2 separate regions of the Homo sapiens genome follow, and region 2 is linked to region 1. Evidence: promoter capture Hi-C in human tissues and cell types (Jung and others, 2019). All regions are on one chromosome and are shown on one strand. The core of a region is centred on a gene start or on the middle of the fragment in contact, and the rest is flanking DNA. Distances in the headings are between cores, read along the strand shown.

Region 1 (3,674 bases), core at 593-3,092:
TTTAAAATATCATAAACTCATGTCAATACCTCCAATTCCAATCCAATACCATAGAGTTCTTCCCTGCCTTCTCGCATTCCCCACTTACATTTTCCTTCTCCCACAGTGAGAACCCTCACCTGAAACATCAGGATATTCATTCATTCACTCAATCCCTCTAGCTTTTGGCTAGATGCCCTTTTGCCATTGGCCTAATTATTCTGAATAAAGGCTGGGTGCTCGGAATGTCCTCTTTCTTTTTTGGAAAGACATCTACAAGCTTCCCAAGTCAGGATTAATTGCTGTTTCCTCTCTCTGTCTGCTATGTACACATGGCCTGCGCTTCTCAGCCCATGTGTATGTCTTTGGTGTCAGAATGCACGTGTCTCACTCTACAGTAAGAAGGAGAGAGTAGGAATAGGTCCCGTCCAGCCACTCTGCTCCAGATTCTTGTTGGTGTAAACTCCTTCCATCTTCCTGGCTACACTACTTAGAGGTAGGAATCATTCTTTTCCTTTACACAGCTGATGATGCTCGGCTGCAGAGAATGAGAGCAGGCTGTGTTGTTTTCATCTTTGTGCTTCCCCAGGCATGTTAGTAGGTGCTTCATATATGTCTGTTGAGTGCATGACTGGCAAGGGGTTGCACTGAGATCTCTAGAACTCGGTTGCTCTCAAATTATAGTTTGCACAAGAAGTGCCTTACTAAATGTATATTTTTGTAATTTTTCTCCATAGATCTGGGGTCCTGGAATTTGCAATCCAACACTCCCCTCCCCTACTCATGGGATATTAAGAAGCACTTTTTGGCTGGGCGAGGTGGTTCACACCTGTAATCCCAGCACTTTGGGAGGCCAAGGTGGGCAGATCACGAGGTCAGGAGATTGAGACCATCCTGGCTAACACGATGAAACCCCGTCTCTACTAAAACAAACAAACAAAAAATACAAAAAATTAGCCAGGCATGGTGGCATGTGCCTGTAGTCCCAGCTACTCGGGAGGCTGAGCCAGGAGAATGGCGTAAACCCGGGAGGTGGAGCTTGCAGTGAGCTGAGATCGCGCCCCTGCACTCCAGCCTGGGCGACACAGCGAGACTCCATCTCAAAAAAAAAAAAAAAAAAAAAAAAGCAAAAAAAAAGCACTTTGTTTTTTTGGCTGGACTAGGTGGCCCATACTTTTTTTTTGTTGTTGTTAGAAGATCTCGTCCTGTTGCCCAGACTGGAGTGCAGTGGTGCAAGCTCACAGCTCACTGCTAATTTTTTTTTTTGTATGTTTGTAGAGATGCGGTTTCACCATTTACCCAGGTTGGTCTCGAACTCTTGACCTCAGGAGATCCGCCCGTGCTCGACCTCTCAAAGTGCTGAGATTACAGGCGTGATCCACCGCGCCTGGCGAAGACGCATATTTTTAATAGGACCTAATATTTACCTGAAATTATCTTGGTTATTTACCAATGTAAGCTCCAACAGGGCCAGGCTTCTGCTTGCTTCTACCCTGACGCGTGTCGGGGCCCTGGCCCAGTGCCTGGCACAGATCAGCAGCGCGCTAAGCACGTGTTGAATGGACGACTACCTTTCAGGGCCTTCCAGCCAGGGTATCTCATGCGTCTGTGTTGAGCGCTTGCTGAGTGACAGAAGCTATGAGCGGAATGAACGCACGCACGACTGAGGAGGCTGCAGACCGCGGGCCAGGGTCTCTGTCAGCCCCGGCAGCGGGTGGGTGACCCCGGCCGGGGGCGGGGCGGGGAGGACGCGGCTCCGCGGCGCCATGACGTCACGCCCGTGCAGCGCCGCGGCCGCGTGCCGGGCGGCGCCATGACGTCATACCCGCGGAGCCTCCGCCGCGCGTCGGCGGCGCCATGACGTCACGCCTGCGGAGCTGCCGCCGCGCGCCGGTGGGGCGCGAGCGTGTGCGGGGCGCGGGCGCGGGCGCGGGCGCGGGCGCGTGCGGGCTGCGAGCCGGGAGGCGGCGGCGGCGACGGCGACGGCGGCGGCATGGCGGAGAGCGAGGCCGAGACCCCCAGCACCCCGGGGGAGTTCGAGAGCAAGTACTTCGAGTTCCATGGCGTGCGGCTGCCGCCCTTCTGCCGCGGGAAGATGGAGGAGATCGCCAACTTCCCGGTGCGGCCCAGCGACGTGTGGATCGTCACCTACCCCAAGTCCGGTGAGCCCCGCGCCGACCGCGCCCGCCACGCCATGCCCCAGCCCTGCAGCGCGGCCGCGTAGACGCCGCGCCCGCGCCCGGGGCTTCTGCTGGGCCGGGTGGTCGCCCTTGGCCTCCGCCCCTGCCGTGCCCACCGCTCTCCCGATGCTCGGATCCCTGCGGGGCGGGGTGGGGTGGGGTGGGGGTGGGAAGGGGCTTGGTTCTCATCTGGGGAAACCAAGGTCAGAGACCTTCGGGAGCGGCCCCTTCCGTGGAGATGGAGCCTATTTGGCCGGCGCTGCAGGAGGATGGGCCCAGGGCCGCCACCCATCCCTGCTTCTCCCTTTACCTGGCTGGCTGTGTGACCTTGGACAGGTCACTCAACCTCTCTGTTCCTGAATCCTGCCCAACCTTTGATGAGTGCAAAGTCCTGGTGTTCACCTGGGAAGGGAGATAACATGGGCGTCAGGGCTTTCAGCGTGGAAACGTAACGTCCCTCCTTTCCAGCCTGGGCTCCGGGTGGGGGATGGGACCAGTCCCCGCCTGGAGTGCCTTGCTTGTACATTCTCTTGTTTCAGGGCTGCCTCCATCACCGAGGCAGGACCTGGGGCATTCACATTTCCCAGCATTAGCTGACGTCACTTTCACAATAACAGCTGTGTGAGCTAGTGGTGGTCATTCCCACTTTACAGTCTAGGCACAGAGGCTCAGAGAGGGGAAGAGGCTGGTCCAAGGTCACTCAGCTGGTGAGTGGCTGACCTGGGAATTAAAGCTAGGCTGGTCTGTTTCCAGACCTGAGGTAGGAGATTGTATAGTACCCCATCTGAGGTTTTTAGGGAAAGGAGGTAGCAGCTTTCCTGTTCTGTAAACATGCCCTGGGATTTCCTTGTTGCCACTGTATTTGAGGCAATCACAGCGTGGTTTAGAAGGTGTCTGGCTCTAAGGTCACGCCGGACCAGCAGTCGGGCAGTTTCAGGAAAAGCTGTAGGCTTGGCTGTTGTAGCTGTATGGAGTTCCAGACACCTGAGGGCAGGTCTCTGACATTCTTCTGAGGAAGATTGGAGTAGGGACTCTCAGTGGAGGGTGTTGGTTGGAGAACAGAGCGTTCGATGGGCTGCTATCTTGAGCACATGCCAGTCGCCGCATGGGGTGGGACCTAAAATGCTTTAGGAATGGCTAAGCGTGTCGTTGGCTTCTGTGGCCACTCATTAAGTCCTGCGGGCCAAGTGCTCTATCGCTGTTAATCTGTGAGGGACTCTTACACCTTTTTTTCAGAGGCTCAGAGAAGGCACAAATTGTTCGGAGTCACACAGTTGCTGAGGGACAGAGGTCAGGTCTAGCTAGGTCTCCCGGTCCACGGCCAGCCTCTCCCCTGCCTTATGGGTGCTCCGTTGCCCTTGGAAAACCGTGAGGGCCCAAGAAGGAGGGGGACCTAGCCTTCTTTCTTGGAGGCTTTAAAATGCTGGAAGTCTCAGCCACTTAGGGATTTTGAGGTTTGTGTCACTTCTCTGAGGCCCCTCCAAGTGGACTTCTGGTAGCCCAGTTCATATTTTC
Region 2 (3,674 bases), core at 318-2,817, 120 kb after region 1:
AGTCCTTGAGGATTCACAATGTACGTTAGCATAGTGAAGGCTCAGAGGAGGCTGCTGTATAGAAATCTATTGAATGTTGCTGCAGCCAGCCTTTCCGTGCATGTGTTTGTTTAGCTCTAGATCCAGAAGAACTTGTGTTTGGAGGAACGCCATTTTGGGAAATGCTGGGGGAGACGACAGACAAAGTCTTTTTCTACTCTAAAATGTGATTCTGGTCTATTTCTTAGGTGAGGTGGTCTGTGGCTGGCTAGGCTCTTGGCAAAGTGCTACAGCCACTTGGCAGTACCCAGCATTGGCCCAGCCTGGGAAACTTTTCACGTAACCTGAACAGTCTTCTGCGGTTTGTCTTTCTCAAAGCAGCATCCTCTTGCATGAGGTCCAGATAAGCAGCAGGATGCTGGGTCAGCATAGTGGCTTCTGATCTTCCAGGCTTGCCCCTGCTGGTGTGCAGCTCTGTCCTGTGAGTGAGCTGAGGCCAGGGCTCTTAGGGGCCCCAAGATTCTTGGCCCGTGGCAGCTGAGGTGGAGTACCCATCCTATGAGTGTGGGCTGGGTAAGAAAGAAAGGAAAGAAAGGAAAGATTTCTTATAGATCAGCAGCCCTTTTTAAAATTTTAATTTCTAATTTTTTGTAGAGATGGGGTCTTACTATATTGCCCAGGCTAGTCTTGAACTCCTAGCCTCAAGCAGTCCTCTTGCCTCAGCCTCCCACAGTGCTGGGGTTACAGGCATGAGCCACCGCACCCAGCCTGGCACCCTTGTAAGTCCCTCAGCTTATAGACGGGGCACCTTTTCATAGCTGTATCGTAAGCTCAATGGGTAGCTAGAGTTTCTTAAAAGAAGTCTATAAGCTATACGTTACAGGTAAGCATTTTAAAAATGAAAAATTGAATGTGGGGGAAGGTTTACATGGCCTGTGGACTTTATATAAGCACGAGTTTCCCTCTTCATCTTGGCTGCAAGGAGACCCCGAACCAGAGTTTTGCTTCATTGTGTCAACTATGACTTTTAGGTTTCTTTAGCTCATTTTTTCGGGGTCAGCTTTCTTTTCTCCATTTTTGTGGATCTTATTTGGATATCTTTTTCAGTAAGCTTTTTCGATTTTTGGTAAAGGCAGGGTATGCCTATGGTCAGTAAAGAAATTTGTAGTCCTTGGCCTGCGAGGGCAACTGCCAGAGCAATGAGAGCATCAGCCCAGAGGCAGGGAGGCGAGGCTTTTGTGAAAGGTGAGCGATGCCCGGCCCCCGCTTCCCGCTTGTCCCCGGATTGGAAGTTTGTGTTTATGAGGTTCTGAATGTAGTCTAATTTTTTCCTATCTGGTTTGGCGCATCTCTACCAGCTGGTAAATAGGAAATGTTCACGGTAGGAAGCCAATACTCTGCAGAGTGTAAACAGATGGAATCGATATAAAGTGACAAGTTAGACTGTGCTATTGAGAATACAGAGCCAAAACTAAGAACATAACAGTCAAGCTACTTATTTCGTTCCAGTTCATTTAGTCCTGAATAGTGCTTCATATCTGCACAGCTGTGTTGTTCTTTTTTCCCCCTTCCTTTCTTCTGGGTTGATAATGACAATTTCAAAGAAAAACTTTAATTAAAGATTTTATACAAAATAGCCAAAAGTAGAATAATAAGGAAAATGAGCATTGATGTGTTTATTGTAAGAGAAATCCTTTTTCATGGTTTCATTTCAAATCTGTACTTCTTAAATTTAAAATGAATTTAGTGGTGGAGACAGAAAGGTGCCAGACTGACAGCCGTGGGTGTTGAACTCTTCCGCTTGCTGCTGAGCCAAGACATGGGGGTGCCCGAAGCCCCCTCCCCTTGGGACTCAGTCTCAGTCTACAGGCAGGCGGGTGGGATGCGGTTCCTGACCCCCTTCTCTTAGAAGCCAGGTGAGAAAAAGTGGCTCCGGGTGAGGAGCTGCACAGAAAACAGCTACACGGAAGCCAATAAGAATGAAATTGTAGAAGGTTTAAGTTCGTCTGCGGGTTATGCTGTGGCATGAAGAAGCTTGGCCTGCCTCCGGGAAGGGCCACGTTAGTGCCAGGCCTCCAGAGGGATTGTTTTCCAGGCGGAGTGGGAATTCTGGGCTTCAGAGGGGAAACATTCAGCCTTTTCTCATCTTCTTTAAAGCCTGGGTGGTCAGATTTATTTGAGTTCACAGTTTTCCTTCCTGGAGCTCAAAGTGCTATAAAAAGAATTTTAAACAAAGAACTCTGGAGTAATAATAGCATCCATGGTTAGCAGTTTATGGAACCATCTGAACTCAGTGGGGTACAAATATGAAGCAGTTTGATTTCTTAGCTCTCAGTTTTCTCCAACAGGAGCTGCTGAATCTCCCTCTCTTGTCCCATAGGAATATCTTCAGCAGATCTGGTGGCTCTCTGGTCACATTTAGGTCTAAACAGGTCCAGTGCAGGCGAGTTCAGTTTAAACCTCAAGTGTGGGGCTGGTTCAGCACGCCCTTCTCAGCTCCTCCAAGCCCGAGGGCCCTGGAGTGGGTAGGGCCTGCTCACTGGCTGTACCTCCCTCCTTCTTTCTGCTTCCTCTCTCCCCCAGATCATGGGGTCTGTGATGAGGGCTGGGGAAGGAGAGCATGTCTCTCTCTCCCTTATCTGGGTCCTCTCTGGGAAGCTCTCCTATAGGGTCCGTGGGGAGTAATTAGGACAGTGCTTTGGGGGCCTCTGAACTTCATGGTTTCCTGTTGAGGAAGATCAGCCCTGACTTAGCCCCCTCTGGACCCCCTCAGCTCCCACTCCTGGTGGTCCAGCTCACTTCCTTTGGCTGCTTGGGTCCCCTTCCCTGATGAGCAGTCCCTTGGGAACAGGACAGCTCAAGATTTCTACCTGTCATGGTGTCCTCTTAACCCATGGAAAATTCACAAGTCCCGTCCATACCAAAATAGGTGTTCAGGCTGCTTTCATCTGCTGCTTCTGCCTTGCTCTGCTGTGTCTGTCTGAGTCTCAGTTCCTCTTCCCAGGTAGGTGCAGAGCAGATCACTGAATCCACTGGGAAATGAGATGCTTGTCTACCCTTTTTGCAGGTTCCTGTCCTGTCTCTACAAGGATTGTCTTGGCTTGCAATCTCCCCACCTACCCACCCACTCATCCATCCACCCATCCATCCTTCATCATCCATCCCCACATCCATCTGTCCATAGCCCTTCCATCCATTCATTCATCATCCATCCATTCATCCATCTACCCATCTATCCATCATCCATCCATCCATCTACCCATCCATCCATCCATAACCCATCCATTCATTCATTCATTCATTCATTCATCATTCATCCATTCATCCGTTCATCCATCCATGCATCCATAACCCATTCATTCATTCATTCATTCATCATTCATCCCTTCATCCATTCATTCATCCATTTACCTATCTATCCATCATCCACCCACCCATCCGTTCACCCATCTGTCCCATTCATTCATCATCCATCCATTCATCCACCCACCCACCCATCCATCCATCCACTCACCCACCCATCCATCCATCCACTTAACAGTTATTCATTGATCCAGGCCCTAGTCTTGGCTCTGGACTCATGCCTATTCAAGACCTTCCTCCATCTCTAGGCTTCTGTTTTCTTAGTCTGGGCAATGGTGCTGTGGAGGGTGAGGGGTGAAGGAGGGACTGGGGTTGGGGAGAGTAATGCCGTT

The links. Contacts are between HindIII fragments. The study calls those that stand out against the background at their distance.
Region 2: a fragment that was not itself captured here is called in contact with the fragment with the promoter of SULT4A1 in region 1 in 2 of the 25 tissues and cell types used here (dorsolateral prefrontal cortex and hippocampus).

Annotation. Positions count from the first base shown.
Region 1 is chr22:43,860,681-43,864,354 of GRCh38, reverse strand. It overlaps SULT4A1 (sulfotransferase family 4A member 1), which reads left to right and starts at 1,842. Exons shown (of 7, transcript NM_014351.4): 1 at 1,842-2,141. The coding sequence starts at 1,973. RefSeq lists an enhancer at 3,527-3,674. The HindIII fragment of the contact is 9,350 bases long and covers 1-3,674 here.
Region 2 is chr22:43,743,703-43,747,376 of GRCh38, reverse strand. The region is part of intron 6 of EFCAB6 (EF-hand calcium binding domain 6); the gene reads left to right. Among named protein-coding and RNA genes, the nearest start is that of EFCAB6, 67 kb to the left of the region's middle. The HindIII fragment of the contact is 4,866 bases long and covers 1-3,674 here.